Regions from separate parts of the Homo sapiens genome. Here regions 2, 3 and 4 are each linked to region 1. Evidence: promoter capture Hi-C in human tissues and cell types (Jung and others, 2019). All regions are on one chromosome and are shown on one strand. Each heading gives the region's core, a stretch centred on a gene start or on the middle of the fragment in contact. The rest is flanking DNA. Distances are from core to core; before and after follow the strand shown.

Region 1 (3,333 bases), core at 649-3,148:
AAACTCATCAGGAAGGTCCACAGCTCCATTCTTGAAGTCAGCAAGACCACGAACCCACCAGAAGGAACGAACTCTGGACACACTAAAAATACAAAAAAAAAAAAAAATCAGCAGGCTTGGTGGCAGGTGCCTGTAGTCCCAGCTACTCGGGAGGCTGAGACAGGAGAATGGCGTGAACGTGGGAGGCAGAGCTTGCAGTGAGCGGAGATCATGCCACTGCCCTCCAGCCTGGGCAACAGAGCAAGACTCCGTCTCAAAAAAAAATTTTTTTAGAGACAAGTGGAGAAACAAATATTAACTGTACATTAAATATTATACATAGGACCAGGCCTGGTGGCTCATGCCTGTAATCCCAGCACTTTGGGAGGCCGAGGCGGGTAGATCACGAGGTCAGGACTTGGAGAGGAGCCTGGCCAATATGGTGAAACCCCGTCTCTACTAAAAATACAAATAATTAGCTGGATGTGGTGACACGCACCTGTAACCCCAGCTACTCGGGAGGCTGAGGAGGAGAATCGCTTGAGCCCGGAAGGCAGACTTCATGCCATTGCACTCCAGCTTTGGCAACAGAGCGAGACTCCGTCTCAAAAAAAAAAAAATCATATATAGATGATTTGATGATATGGTTAATTTTGTTAGGTGTGATAATGGTATCATTAGTAGCATGATGTCCCTTTGTCTTTAGGAATTGCCGGCTGGCAATGGGGAAGGGGTTGTGCATCCACTATTTCAGCCCCTACTACTTTAAGTCTCTTCCCAAGCACGTTCCTCTCCCAAAGAAGTTACCATTCTAAATGCCTAACAGCTGGAAGTCCCCTCTGGTGGTTTCACAAGTGGAGTGATTTTACAGGAGAAACCCAGGTTTGGGGTTTACTATTTACTTGACGGCATTTGTAATCTGTAAGGCTCTTCCTGCAAAGAACAGGTGTTTCCAACTATACGTGCCTGGTCAAGGACTATTTCTTGGGTTTTCTACGTTCTGCTTTTGACAGCTGACTTAACTCAGGGCCTGCCTCACTGAAGGGAGAAAAAGGAAGGCCTCGGTCCCCCAATCATGATGACCGGGTTGTAAATACTGCCTGGGAAGGGATAATACAGCCTTTTCCATTGTGTGTGTGTTTTAGTTTTTAATTTTTTAAATTTCAAGCTTAGGCAGTGGTTCAGTGCAAGGACTGAAAAGCGCTACAAGAGAAGGTGGGCAAGCACGAGGGGTTTCAAATACAGGGGTGGAAGCAGTAGAAGGAAATGTCTCTTAGGCCCAGAGGACGGAACCAAAGGGTCAATTAGAAGGGAAAGGGACCTGCGGACCTGGGGAGAGGTCACTGGGGTTCTAAGCCTTCCACCTCTGCTTCCGGAATTTCCACGGGTTTCGCGGCCTTCTGGAGCGGCGACTTGGCCACGCTTGGGGTACAGGGTTGTGGGAAGTCATGTCATCCCCTCCCTCACGTGTTCCCTTGGCCATACTTTCCTGCCCCTCCACTTCCAGGCAAAACACTCCTCGGGACAGGCCTTGGGACATGTCCCAGATACACAATGGGGGCGCTGGACTTGGTGATAAGGGGCCTGCAGGAAGAAAAAGGCAGCCGTGAGAGCCGCCTGCAGATCCACGATGCATCTTAAAATTACAAATTCTCAGGCCCTACCCCAGACCTACTGAGTCAGAATACCCAGGGCACTGAGCCAGGGGGTGGGTGCCCGTAGGCCCGGCAGCACCCAGCCTGCAGAAGCTCCACCTCCGGGAGCGCTGAGCTAGGACCAGCTCCCCACGCCCCTGCCCTGGGGCTGCCGGGAGTCCAGTCCTGTTACACCTCCCGCGGCCGCGCACAGCGGCAACCCGGGCGTGCGGGGGCGCGCGCGGTCAGGGAGGGGCCTGCGGAGGCGCGAGGCCCCCGGAAGCGCCTTTCCCGGAAGGCAGGGAGGCAGCGCCGGCCTCCGGAGGCGGCCTGGGCGATGGCGGCGGAGTTTTGTCCATAACGTGGGCAACCGCGCAGCTGGAGGATGGCCTCACTCGGGCCTGCCGCAGCTGGGGAGCAGGCGTCGGGGGCTGAGGCGGAGCCGGGCCCCGCGGGGCCGCCGCCGCCGCCCTCACCGTCCTCTCTGGGGCCCCTGCTCCCCCTGCAGCGGGAACCTCTCTACAACTGGCAGGCGACCAAGGCGTCGCTGAAGGAGCGCTTCGCCTTCCTCTTCAACTCGGAGCTGCTGAGCGATGTGCGCTTCGTACTGGGCAAGGGTCGCGGCGCCGCCGCCGCTGGGGGCCCGCAGCGCATCCCCGCCCACCGCTTCGTGCTGGCGGCCGGCAGCGCCGTCTTTGACGCCATGTTCAACGGCGGCATGGCCACCACGTCGGCCGAGATCGAGCTGCCGGACGTGGAGCCCGCAGCCTTCCTGGCGCTGCTGAGGTGAGCGGCAGCGCGGGCCGGGCCGGGCCGGGCCGGGCCGGGCCGGGCCGGGCTGGGAGATCCCCGGGGCCCGGCCTACCCGGACTCCCGGATGACCTTGGGCTGGGCTCTTCTGACCCGCCCGGGGCCTCAGTTTCCTCCCGAGCCGTTGATGCTCCGGAGGGTCGAAATCGAAATCTGTGAACCAGGACGGCTCAGTCGCCAACTAAACGTTAGTGTCTTCATTAGGCAAGCGTGCGTTTTACCATTGAAAGGCGTTTCGCATTCCAATTATGGATTGTCGCTCAGACTTCAGAATTAGACAAGTGGCAAGGATAGAGGGGCAGATCAGGTTGTCCTGATTGCCCATTTGCGAAGTTTTATGTTTTTGTTTGGGGGAAGAGAGTAGTTGAAAAATCTTGCAGGACTGATGTTTTGGGGTTATTGTCACCCCCTTCCCCCCGCTTTTTTTGAGACAAGGTCTTGCTCTGTTGCCCAGGCTGGAATGCTGTAGCGCGATCATGGCTCACTGCAGCCTCGACCTCTCCGGGCTCAGGTGATGCTCCGACCTCAGCCTCCCGAGTATTTGGGACTACAGGCACGCGCCACCACGCCCGGCTAATTTTTTTTATTTTTATTTTTGGTAGAGAGAGGGTTTCACTATGTTGCCCAGGCTGGTCTCGGACTCCTGGGGTCAAGCGATCCGTCCACCTCGGCCTCCCAAAGTGCTGGGATTACAGGCGTGAACCACCGCGCCTGGCCACTTTTTTGTTTTTGTTTTTGTTTTTCATTAACGTATTAGTTGTCAAGACCCAGGAAAGTAAATACGAAAACAGACAAGTGAGGCTTTACCTGCTTTGTGTTTCTACACACAAGGTCACATTTGCTTATAAATGAATCCCTCCCTTGATGTTAGAATTTGCTTGTTGGTTATTTGAGGATAGTAGATTGACAT
Region 2 (3,276 bases), core at 530-3,029, 770 kb before region 1:
TTGGAGTGCAATAGTGGGATTGTGGCTCACTGCAGCCTCAACCTCCTGGGCTCAAGTGATCCTCCCACCTCAGCCTCCCAAGTAGCTGGGATCACTTGAGCCTGGGAGGTTGAGTCACAGGCCTGTGCCCCAACACCCAGCTTTTTAAAATTTGATGTAAAGACAGGGTCTCCCTATGCTGCCCAGGCTGGTCTTGAATTCCTGGGCTCAAGTGATCCTCCTGCCTTGGCCTTCCAAAGTGCTGGGATTACAGGCATGTACCACACTGCCCAGCCCAGGCATTTTTATATATATAAAATAAACAGAACATTACAGACGTTTCCTCTCTCCCCAGCCCTACACTTATCCTATTCTCTCATTTCCTCCCCAAAACAACCACTGTCCTAAATTTGATGTATAACCTTCTGGTTCATAGTTTTACTTTAAATATCTTTTTTTTTTCTGTTTTTACTTCTATCTCTAAATATCTATATCCCTATATTAATATCTGTCTATAGTCTTTATCTATATCTTTATATCTCCTTGTCTTTATCATTAGCTGTACCTATGCCTATGTATCTCCACCGCTGTCATTATACCTATATATTTATAAACAATTTTTAAAATATAAAAAATAATTAAAAGGAGAGATGTCTCATATAAAATACGTGTTTATACTGCTATCCTTCCTTCTCTTGTCATTTTTCATGTGTACATATGTGTGTGTATTTGCTATATTATAAGCTTCCTTATATGAGAAAAAAGGTCATGTCTTATATTTCTTTTTTATTTCTTAAGCATATATTTTACATAATGTGTAAACAACAATAATATCAACTGATCTGATGGTTTATCTCTTCCTTCCTTCCCATATTCATCTAACTTTATTTATAAATCTGGTGTTTAAGTGCAGGGACTTTGGAGGAAGAAAACACCCACGTACAAACCTGGATCCACTCACCACCCTTTCAAGCTGCAGGATGTTGAAAAATTCAAACTCTCAGAGACTCGTTTTCCTCAACAGTAAAATAGAGATAATAATACCAATATATACTTCACATAGGGCCTAGTGATGATTCAGTGAGAAAATATATGTAAAATTCTTAGTATAATGATTCAAACACTATAAAGGATTCAATAAAAAAGGGCCAATGTTATTATTTCTCTGTGTTTTTCATCTTATTTTGACTCCTGGGTAGCCCTCATGCTTCAGCTTGGAGAGTTGTTGAATCAGACTCTATATCCAAGCTGTTGAAGAAGAAATGAAACTAGAGGAAGTTGAGACAATTATTTATAACAATTCTTTCCAACATTTTGGTGTTGAAGGGAAAGAGAAAGATCAAGTGAAAATTTCAGGGAGAGATAGTAAGTTTCAAGGAAGTTTAGAGAATAGCTTATGATTAGAGATATTTTCAAATTCACAAAGAGCTATCATGAGGAAAGGGTCTACTTTTGTTCTGTATATTTCCAAATGGTGAAAGCTACAGGTTTAAGCATAATTTGGTTCAATATGAGAAAGTTTGAAAAGTCAGAGTTATCTAATAATAAGTATTCAATCATAGTCTAGGAGATCTCTTGGTGGAAAAATTGTAGGGGGGATTAAATTATTGGATGAGTAGCTTAATCCAATGACTTTTGAGATCCTTTAATCCTGATTATATGATTTTATAAAGATAGTAATACAATATTAATAATTGCTGATTTTTATTGAATGCTTAGCATGTACCTGGCATTATGCCATGAATATTGTACACATTATTTCATTTAATCTTCAGAGCAATTTTGTCATGAGGTGATACCTTTAACTCTATTTTATAAATAAGGAATCTAAACATTACTGAGTAAATGATTTGCCAATATTACACAGCTAGTATATAGTGTTGGTAATGGTTTTAAAACCCAAGTTATCTGACTCAGAATCTTAACACTACATTACAACTTCCTCTACCTTAAGTATCAGCAGATAGACAACAACAACAAAAGCCCAGTTACACAGGCCATTAAATTAACATTTACAAGTACATGTGGAACAACTTAAGAGTGATTGATTTTGGAAACACACTTGCATGGTCAAGATTCAATCAATGAGTAACTTGTGTTCATGCAACTTTCTCCAAGGGGAGTAATACCACTATTAAATTATAGAAACACTGCTCCTGGGCCAAACTCTGTCCTCACACATTCATGTCCCTGAGCACTCTGCATTTCATGAGAATGAGAATCACTCTCTATCTGGTCATCCAGGAAGGGCGTGGGCTTAGGAGCTAGGAGGGGCTTGTTTTGAAGAGTGTTTAAGGCCTTGCAAGATCTCAGGCAATTGAATACCTCCCTGAGCACTGATATTTGCTTCATAATTTTTTTTAAGTTACAATTCATCCAAATGTTATAGCAAAATAAAGCATGTGAAAACATCACAGAAAAATGATATTTGAAAAGAAAGTCTTGCCTTGTGATTCATAACGAATAAGCCAGAAATGCCTTTGAAATTGAGGGGCCACTGAATTTTGGCTTTCATATCCCATCATAATCAACAATAAGCAACTTTTTTTTTTTTTTTTTTTGAGACAGAGTCTTGCTCTGCCGCCCAAGCTGGAGTGCAGTGGTGCAATCTCAGCTCACTGCAAGCTCTGCCTCCTGGGTTCACGCCATTTTCCTGCCTCAGCCTCCCGAGTAGCTGGGACTACAGCTACCCGCCACCATGCCCGGCTAATTTTTTGTATTTTCAGTAGAGACAGGGTTTCACTGTGTTAGCCAGGATGGTCTCGATCTCCTGATCTCGTGATCTGCCCGCCTTGGCCTCCCAAAGTGCTGGGATTACAAGCGTGAACCACAGCGCCCGGCCCAACAATAAGCAACTTCTAAAAAATTGCCTGAAGTGTTTCCAACTTCTATGACATCATCTGAAGTCATGATCTCTAATTATAGTGATTTATTAACTACTAATTGACAGATATATCAATAAAATTTATTAACATCTATTAAATAACCATTTTCTATACTGCCAGACACTACAGAGCATAAATTAATAACATAAGATTCTTACCTTACAGTGTAGTTAATGAGACAAGTTACACAAGATAGTGGATGACATAAACAAATATTTAAAATATATGAGTAGTGCTTTTTGGAATAAATATTCATCTATAAATCATCACTTCAGCTAAAAATTATTTCACAGTTCCTGCATATGATTTCCTAATCAGCTAAAAGATGATAATACTTAAATAAGTGGCACTAGTCCAAATGAAGCAAAATATGAATTTTTCAGAGCAGTCAAATTTAATCATTCAAGAACAA
Region 3 (3,161 bases), core at 357-2,856, 930 kb before region 1:
AACAGGGCTAGGAGGTGAACAACAACAACAACAAAACAATGTAACTGATAACCACATGTCAAAAAAAAGTCCATTCTCCAAAATTAATGGACATTAATAGTTGCTATATTTGCTTAAAAATTAATGGACATTAATATTTGCTATATTTGCTTCAGTTTTGTTTTGTTTTGTTTTGTTTTTTGAGACGGAGTCTTATTCTTGTTGCCCGGGCTGGAGAGCAATGGCACAATCTCAGCTCACTGCAGCCTCTGCCTCCCAGGTTCAAGCGATTCTCCTGCCTCAGCCTCCCAAGTAGCTGGGATTACAGGCATGTGCCACCACACCTGGCTAATTTTTTGTATTTTTAGTAGAGACAGGGTTTCATCATATTGGCCAGGCTGGTCTCAAACTTCTGACCTCAGGTGATCCACCTGCCTCGACTTCCCAAAGTGCTGGGATTACAGGTGTGAGCCACTGTGCCCAGCCGCTTCAGACCTTTTTTAAGCAATAAAGGATTACAGCTAGAGCTAAAGTTCTATCCCCAAACTTTTCTTCTTTTGTCTCCCAGGAGAACCAACAATCCTGACACTGGTATGTATCCTTCTCTCTCTCTGCTTTTACAAACAATGTTACAATGCACTCTTGAAACTCTCTTTGCAAAAACAGGGCTATATCCACAAGTGAAATGTCTGGTTTTGAGCATCTTTGACTTGATCAGATTTTACAAAATTGTTCTCTAAATTGGTTCATTACATATACACTGTGACCAGCAGTGTATGATGTCCTATTTCTCCATGCTCTTGCCAACCCTTGGTAGTGCCAACTTTTGCCCAATAGATATGAAATGGAATCTCACTTCTATTTTAATTTCCTTAGCAGTGAGGACATTTTCCCTACCAGTGTGGAAATGAGAACATTTTCATATGCCATTATTGGCTATTAGGGTTTCACTTTCTGACAATTGCCTGTTCATATCTTTTGCTCTTTTTTTTTTTTTTTTTTTTTTTTTTTGAGGCAGAGTCTCGCTCTGTTGCCCAGGCTGGAGTGCAGTGGTGCAATCTCTGCTCACTGCAACCTCCGCCTCCTGGGTTCACACCATTCTCCTGCCTCAGCCTCCCAAGTAGCTGGGACTACAGGCACCCACCACCACGCCCAGCTAATTTTTTGTATTTTTAGTAGAGACAGGGTTTCACCATGTTAGCCAGGATGGTCTCGATTTCCTGACCTCATGATCTGCCTGCCTCGGCCTCCCAAAGTGCTGGGATTACAGGCATGAGCCACCGCGCCCGGACTGCTCATTTTTATATTGAGTGGTTTATTTGTATTGATTCAGAGAAGCTATTTCTATATTCTGGTACTATATAACAAATATTTTCTGCCAGAAATGTGGCTTGACTTTTAAATTTATTGACAATGTCTTTCAGGGATCAGAACTTTTATATCTTAACAGCAAAGTGTGTCAATGTTTTTTATAACAGCTTATTGAAATATAATTAATAAACCAAAAAGTTCACCCTTTAAAAGTATAACTCTGTAGTTCTAATATATTCACAGAGTTGTGCAACCCCATCATCACTATACAATAGATGTTTTACTTTATGACTTGTATTTTTTGTATCTTTTCCATTCCAAAGTCATAAAGACATCTCTTATATTTTATGATTTTTAAAAATATGTTCATATTTTAGGCACTTAAATCAATTAGAATTTATTTTTGGTTGAGTTTTTTATATTTATAAACAATTATCCTATAACAATTTACTTACTAGTCTGTCCTTTATTGGTTTTTAATTCTACTGCTATTAAATTTTAGTTTCCATATACTGTATGCTTGAATCTGCTGTGGGCTCCGCATTCTGTTCCATTTATTTGTCTATCCCTCTTACACTGCTGTAAGCCCTCAAGCTTTATGCTAAGTCTTTATATTTGATAGAGCAAATCTCACCCACCTTGTTATTCTTAAAAAATGTTTGGGCTATTCTCAGCCATATGTGCTTTCATATTAATTATAGGATCAGTTTGTTCTAGCAATCCTACAGGATTGCTTTTTTTATTGAAATTATTCTGAATGTAGAGATCCAAAACTTTGTATATTTTCTTTGCTTTTAAATGGGGATAATTATATTATCTATAAATAAGAAGAAATTTTTGTAGTTATTTTCTAGTTTTTATATTTCTAGTTTTGTATAATTTTTCTAGTTATCTAGTCTTGGTTTCTAATTTTCTAGTTCTAATTTTTCTATTTATTTTATCTTATTGCACTGGCTAGTGCTAACGCAGTGTTGAACAGATATAGTGATAAAGGGCATCGTATGTTTTTTCCTGACTTTAATGGGACTGTTTGAGTCTCACCATTAAAGTGAGTATGATGCTTACAATAGGTTTCTGACAGGCAAATCAAGGTAGAGATTATCCCTTCTATTACTGGTTTGCCAAGAGGTTTTCATATCATTTTCGTGTTGAAGTTTATCAGATGCTTTGTCTACATCTATTAAGATGATCCTAAATTTTATCTCCTTAAATCTCTGTGGTAGAGATGGAGATGCTCCACCCAAATCAACCTTCAAGGAGGAACTCAGTGTCCCTGCTCCTGGTAGCCTCTGGTTGTTAGTCCCTTCACAATCTGTCTCCGCCGACCCAAGAGCACATATGCCCCTTCCAGAGAGGCCCACAGCCAGTGACTGCAGGAGGCAGGGGCATGAAGGCCTGGCCACTGTGGGTCAGCCTGGGACAACTCTAATAAGTCACATATGTTTCAAGGGGGCTTGGTGAGACTTTGTGGGCCTGCATCACAGTTCTCCTTTGCCCTCTGTCTAATCCTGCTTGCTTCCTCCCTTCCACATATGTTGACAACTAATATACTATACAAAAACTCCTTCCAGGGCCGGATGCCGTGGCTCATGCCTGTAATCCCAACACTTTGGGAGGCTGAGGTGGGTGGATTACTTGAGGTCAGGAGTTCGAGACCAGCCTGGGCAACATGGTGAAACCCCCGTCTCTACTAAAAATGCAAAAAAAAAAAAAAAAAATAGCCAGGCATGGTGGCTTGTACCTGTAATCCCAGCTATTTGGGAGGCTGAGGTAGGAGAATCGTTTGAACCTGGGAGGCAGAGATTGCAGTGAGCTGAGATTGCACCACTGCCCTCCAACCTGGGCAACAGAGTGAGGTTCTGTGTCAAAAA
Region 4 (3,429 bases), core at 906-3,405, 510 kb before region 1:
AGGGCTGCCCTGGTTACTTCTCAGGACCCTGCCAAGCCCAACTTGGCCTGGTGAGAAATCAGTCATGGGACTGCCCCTCTTGGATCCCTGGAAAGTTGGAGAACCAAAACACCTCCTGGCTTGCATCACTGCCTATAGAATAACGACACTGCTCAGCCTCAGGCAAGATGTGAAGAGATGCTCAATGTCTCTAATCCAGCTCCCATTCACAAGACAACCAAAGGCTACAGTGTGGGGCCGAAGGAGACTCTTCTTCATTCTCCCATTCCCAGTTCTGCCAAAAATAGATGAGAAAATAGATAAAACTTCTGCTTAGGAATGTTAGAGTTAGCATGTCATGTCTCTCTACCTCCCCTTCCTTTGGTGATTCATCTAACTGGTGAGATTACGGGAGTGGCACCCACTTGGCCCTAATAACCAGGGTACCTAGACACTGCAAGGAAAGGCAGTAGGGGCCTGGCTCTGGGCTCCGGATTTCTCAAGAAAGTGGGTTTGTGAAGTGGCCACAAGATCGTGTGTCATCTGGCTTTGTGGTCTCTGCACCCGCTCTCTCTGCAGGGGCTCCAAGGTCTAGACTTCAGGCCAGGAATAGCTCACTGGACTTCTACTGTGGGCCCAGGCCCAAGCTGCCCCTTCCAACATGGCTTTCTAGAGAGCCCTGCTCTCTGAGCAAGGGGCTGGCATGTGATCTCATGTGGCTCCCTGGGTTTGTTTCTCAGTTGGGAGAATGCAGAGGTGAGGACAGTGAACAACCACACCCTGGAAATCCCTGCAAATGGCCTGTTGGCCAGAAAACCCTAGGAAGTACTACATCTGGAGACCCAGGAAAGACCAAGTCTGTTAACTCCAGTCAGGGTTCTCCTCACATCAGTCAGAGTTTTGGCAAACAGTTTCTTTTGAGGCATTCCCCGGTGAAGCTTTTATTGCGTCTTAGCCAGGATGATGAGACATGAGGGCTGGAGAAGGCACCAGCTCTTCCCCCAGGGTGAGATTTTGGTCTTTGAATTGTCAGTGCCAAACAGAGATGGACAGGTAGCACAAGAGCACCAAGCACACCCATCTCAGAGGATTTCCCTTCATTTGCTTCTCTGCTTATTCACTTTCTCTTTGGAGCGAATGCTTCTAAGTCCTCTCGCCAGGCCCTCCTCTTCCTCCTCTTGTGGATGAGGTTGGGGGTGCTCCCTAGTTAGTAGGATGGGTTGCTCTGCCTCAGTCACTGGCTCTGCAGGGTTGGGGCCAGCAAGGCTCCCACTCACCCAGCTTCAGCGTCTCAGGCTGTATCTGGGTGGTAAGACAGGCGGGCTCTCCCCTAGAGCTGGCTGTCATCCACCGAAGGTGCAAGGAGGGGAAAGTGCCAACAGGACTTTAGGCCCAGGCCATGTCCTTCAGCACAGTTGACCAGGAGGTCTGTATTTTACAATTTTCAAGCATTCTCATCAGTTAAAGAGATGTCCCTTGATTCCAATCCGGCTTTTTTGTCACTTCCTCCATTGGTCAGAACCCAAAGGGTGAATGGCTGTGACTGACATCCCCAAACTTCCCACCACAGTAACAGAAGCATGTCCCACTTGTGTCTGGAGGAAGTGTCAGGGCCTCTGCTGCCTGCCACCAGGCTTCCCTTGCAGCCACTCATTTGACAGTTTGTGCACCTTGTCTCCAGCAGGTACCAGATCAGGTAGAAACACCGTCCAATCCATCAGGCAGCAGCACCCAAAGACCCACTGTGTTTGACATGGCGATTAGAACAGGTCCCAGCCATCTTTAGTTTCTGCCAGGAAATCCAGCCCTCCCCAGCCATCCCGAAGCACAGCTCCTCATGCAGGACTTCCCCACCAGGAAAGGAAGCAACATGGCAACAAGAGGTTGAGTGACCAAGGTTGGACGTGCGGGTTGTGACTCACAGGGAGCAGGAAACCAGAGTCCCATGGGCTACAAGGCCACCAGCTCTGGCCTGGTTGTTGGAGATGGGCCAAACACAGGGCCAAGGGTTCAATGTATGCCCCATCAACCATGTATTGGCATTTTGTCTTTCTCCCAACTAGTCACATTCTCTGTTTATCCCCAAGCACCAGGCAGTATCGGCATTGGCATGTCAGGTCCAAGGAGTGACCAGCAGGAGATTTTTCTCTAGCTTGTCTGGTCAACAGGAGAGGATGGTCAGACCACCTGGCTATGGCACAGACACACTGACATGGAAAAGGATCAGGTGATTCCCTCTGATCTAACTGCTGTTGACCCCAAGAAGAGAGTAAGATGGGCTTCTGAAGCCTAAACAATCATCTCTGAGTCTCCTCAGCTATAAACCTGGGTAGGAGAAAAGGTAAACGCACATGCACCATGACAGGGACCATCAACAGCACCCCCTTAGCCTCTTTATCATGGGGTGTCAGTGAATGGTAGCTCTTGTCATTGTCATCATCATTATCACCACTGTCTTTATCATTATCACGATCACCACCATTACCGCAAGAAGCAGCAGCCAGAGCACACCTAGCAGCCATTGCAGCTACAGATGGCAGGAAGCAGGAAGCAGGAAGGAGGGAAGAGCCTAGTTCCCGGGCAGCCTGGGCGGCCCATCTCCGTTTCATAACGTTGGTCTCCTCCCACCTCAATGGCAGAAGTAGAAGCCAGACAACCCCTCCTTGTGAAGGTGAAGACCCCAGGATCCAGGCTGAGGGAGCAGCCCTGACTCCCCAGAGCTGAACAGGGGAAACCTCCACTCACCTGCAGGTCAATTTCCCACAGGAAGCCTTGGAGGAAACACTGCAACCAGGCCGGAGCAAGGCCAGCACCAGAGCCCCTGCGGAGCTTGGGCTAGGAACCAGCTCTTACTTCTGCTGGGGCAGGGTGGGAGGACTTAACCCATTTGTGACAGGCAGAATACGTGTTACTGTCAAAACATGGACAAATGATTGAGCTTTTATAATGAAGGGATCCTTTTTGACTTTTGACTGATACTGAGGGGGAAAACTGAGGTCTCTTGGGTCAACTGCTAAGGCCGGCGTGGCTCAGACAGGCTTCCCTCATGGAGCACTTCGCAAAAACCCATCATTGTGGTTCCCGCATGAAGGCAGTGAATGGAACAAATGGGTCAGACGGCGCATCTGACACACAAGACACAATCTCAGAGTTTAAGCCATGAATGGGCCTGGAGCCAGCAGGGCAACATTCCATATGGCCCAACAAGGAGTATCTGATACATGTCACACTTCAAATACATTTTCTAAAGACTTCAAAACAATACGGCAATCTGAAACAAAACAAAATCGCTGTTGCTTGGGGACAATTTCAAGAGGAAATTTATACATTTAAAGAAAAACAGAGATACCAAACTGTCACACCTCCTCCTATTTCCCAAAAAAAATGTAAAAAAAAAAAAAAATTAAAAGAAGAAACACAGTAGAGTGTACTTTTCAGGCCTCAGTGGTT

The links. The method cuts DNA at HindIII sites, captures the fragments that hold promoters and counts their contacts. A contact is called where the count stands out against the background at its distance.
Region 2: a fragment that was not itself captured here is called in contact with the fragment with the promoter of BTBD1 in region 1 in 1 of the 25 tissues and cell types used here (lymphoblastoid cells).
Region 3: a fragment that was not itself captured here is called in contact with the fragment with the promoter of BTBD1 in region 1 in 1 of the 25 tissues and cell types used here (mesenchymal stem cells).
Region 4: a fragment that was not itself captured here is called in contact with the fragment with the promoter of BTBD1 in region 1 in 1 of the 25 tissues and cell types used here (liver).

Annotation. Positions count from the first base shown.
Region 1 is chr15:83,065,817-83,069,149 of GRCh38, reverse strand. BTBD1 (BTB domain containing 1) reads left to right here and starts at 1,898. Exons shown (of 8, transcript NM_025238.4): 1 at 1,898-2,399. The coding sequence starts at 1,999. It overlaps MIR4515 (microRNA 4515), which reads right to left and starts at 1,815; the gene lies at 1,735-1,815. RefSeq lists enhancers at 1-13, 1,451-1,500, 1,511-1,630 and silencers at 1,691-2,170, 2,411-2,580. The HindIII fragment of the contact is 16,507 bases long and covers 144-3,333 here.
Region 2 is chr15:83,834,498-83,837,773 of GRCh38, reverse strand. The region is part of intron 6 of ADAMTSL3 (ADAMTS like 3); the gene reads right to left. Among named protein-coding and RNA genes, the nearest start is that of ADAMTSL3, 180 kb to the right of the region's middle. The HindIII fragment of the contact is 3,077 bases long and covers 241-3,276 here.
Region 3 is chr15:83,994,610-83,997,770 of GRCh38, reverse strand. All of the region lies in intron 23 of ADAMTSL3 (ADAMTS like 3), which reads right to left. Among named protein-coding and RNA genes, the nearest start is that of GOLGA6L4, 240 kb to the left of the region's middle. The HindIII fragment of the contact is 7,176 bases long and covers 1-3,161 here.
Region 4 is chr15:83,578,611-83,582,039 of GRCh38, reverse strand. All of the region lies in intron 6 of SH3GL3 (SH3 domain containing GRB2 like 3, endophilin A3), which reads right to left. Among named protein-coding and RNA genes, the nearest start is that of ADAMTSL3, 74 kb to the left of the region's middle. The HindIII fragment of the contact is 6,416 bases long and covers 1-3,429 here.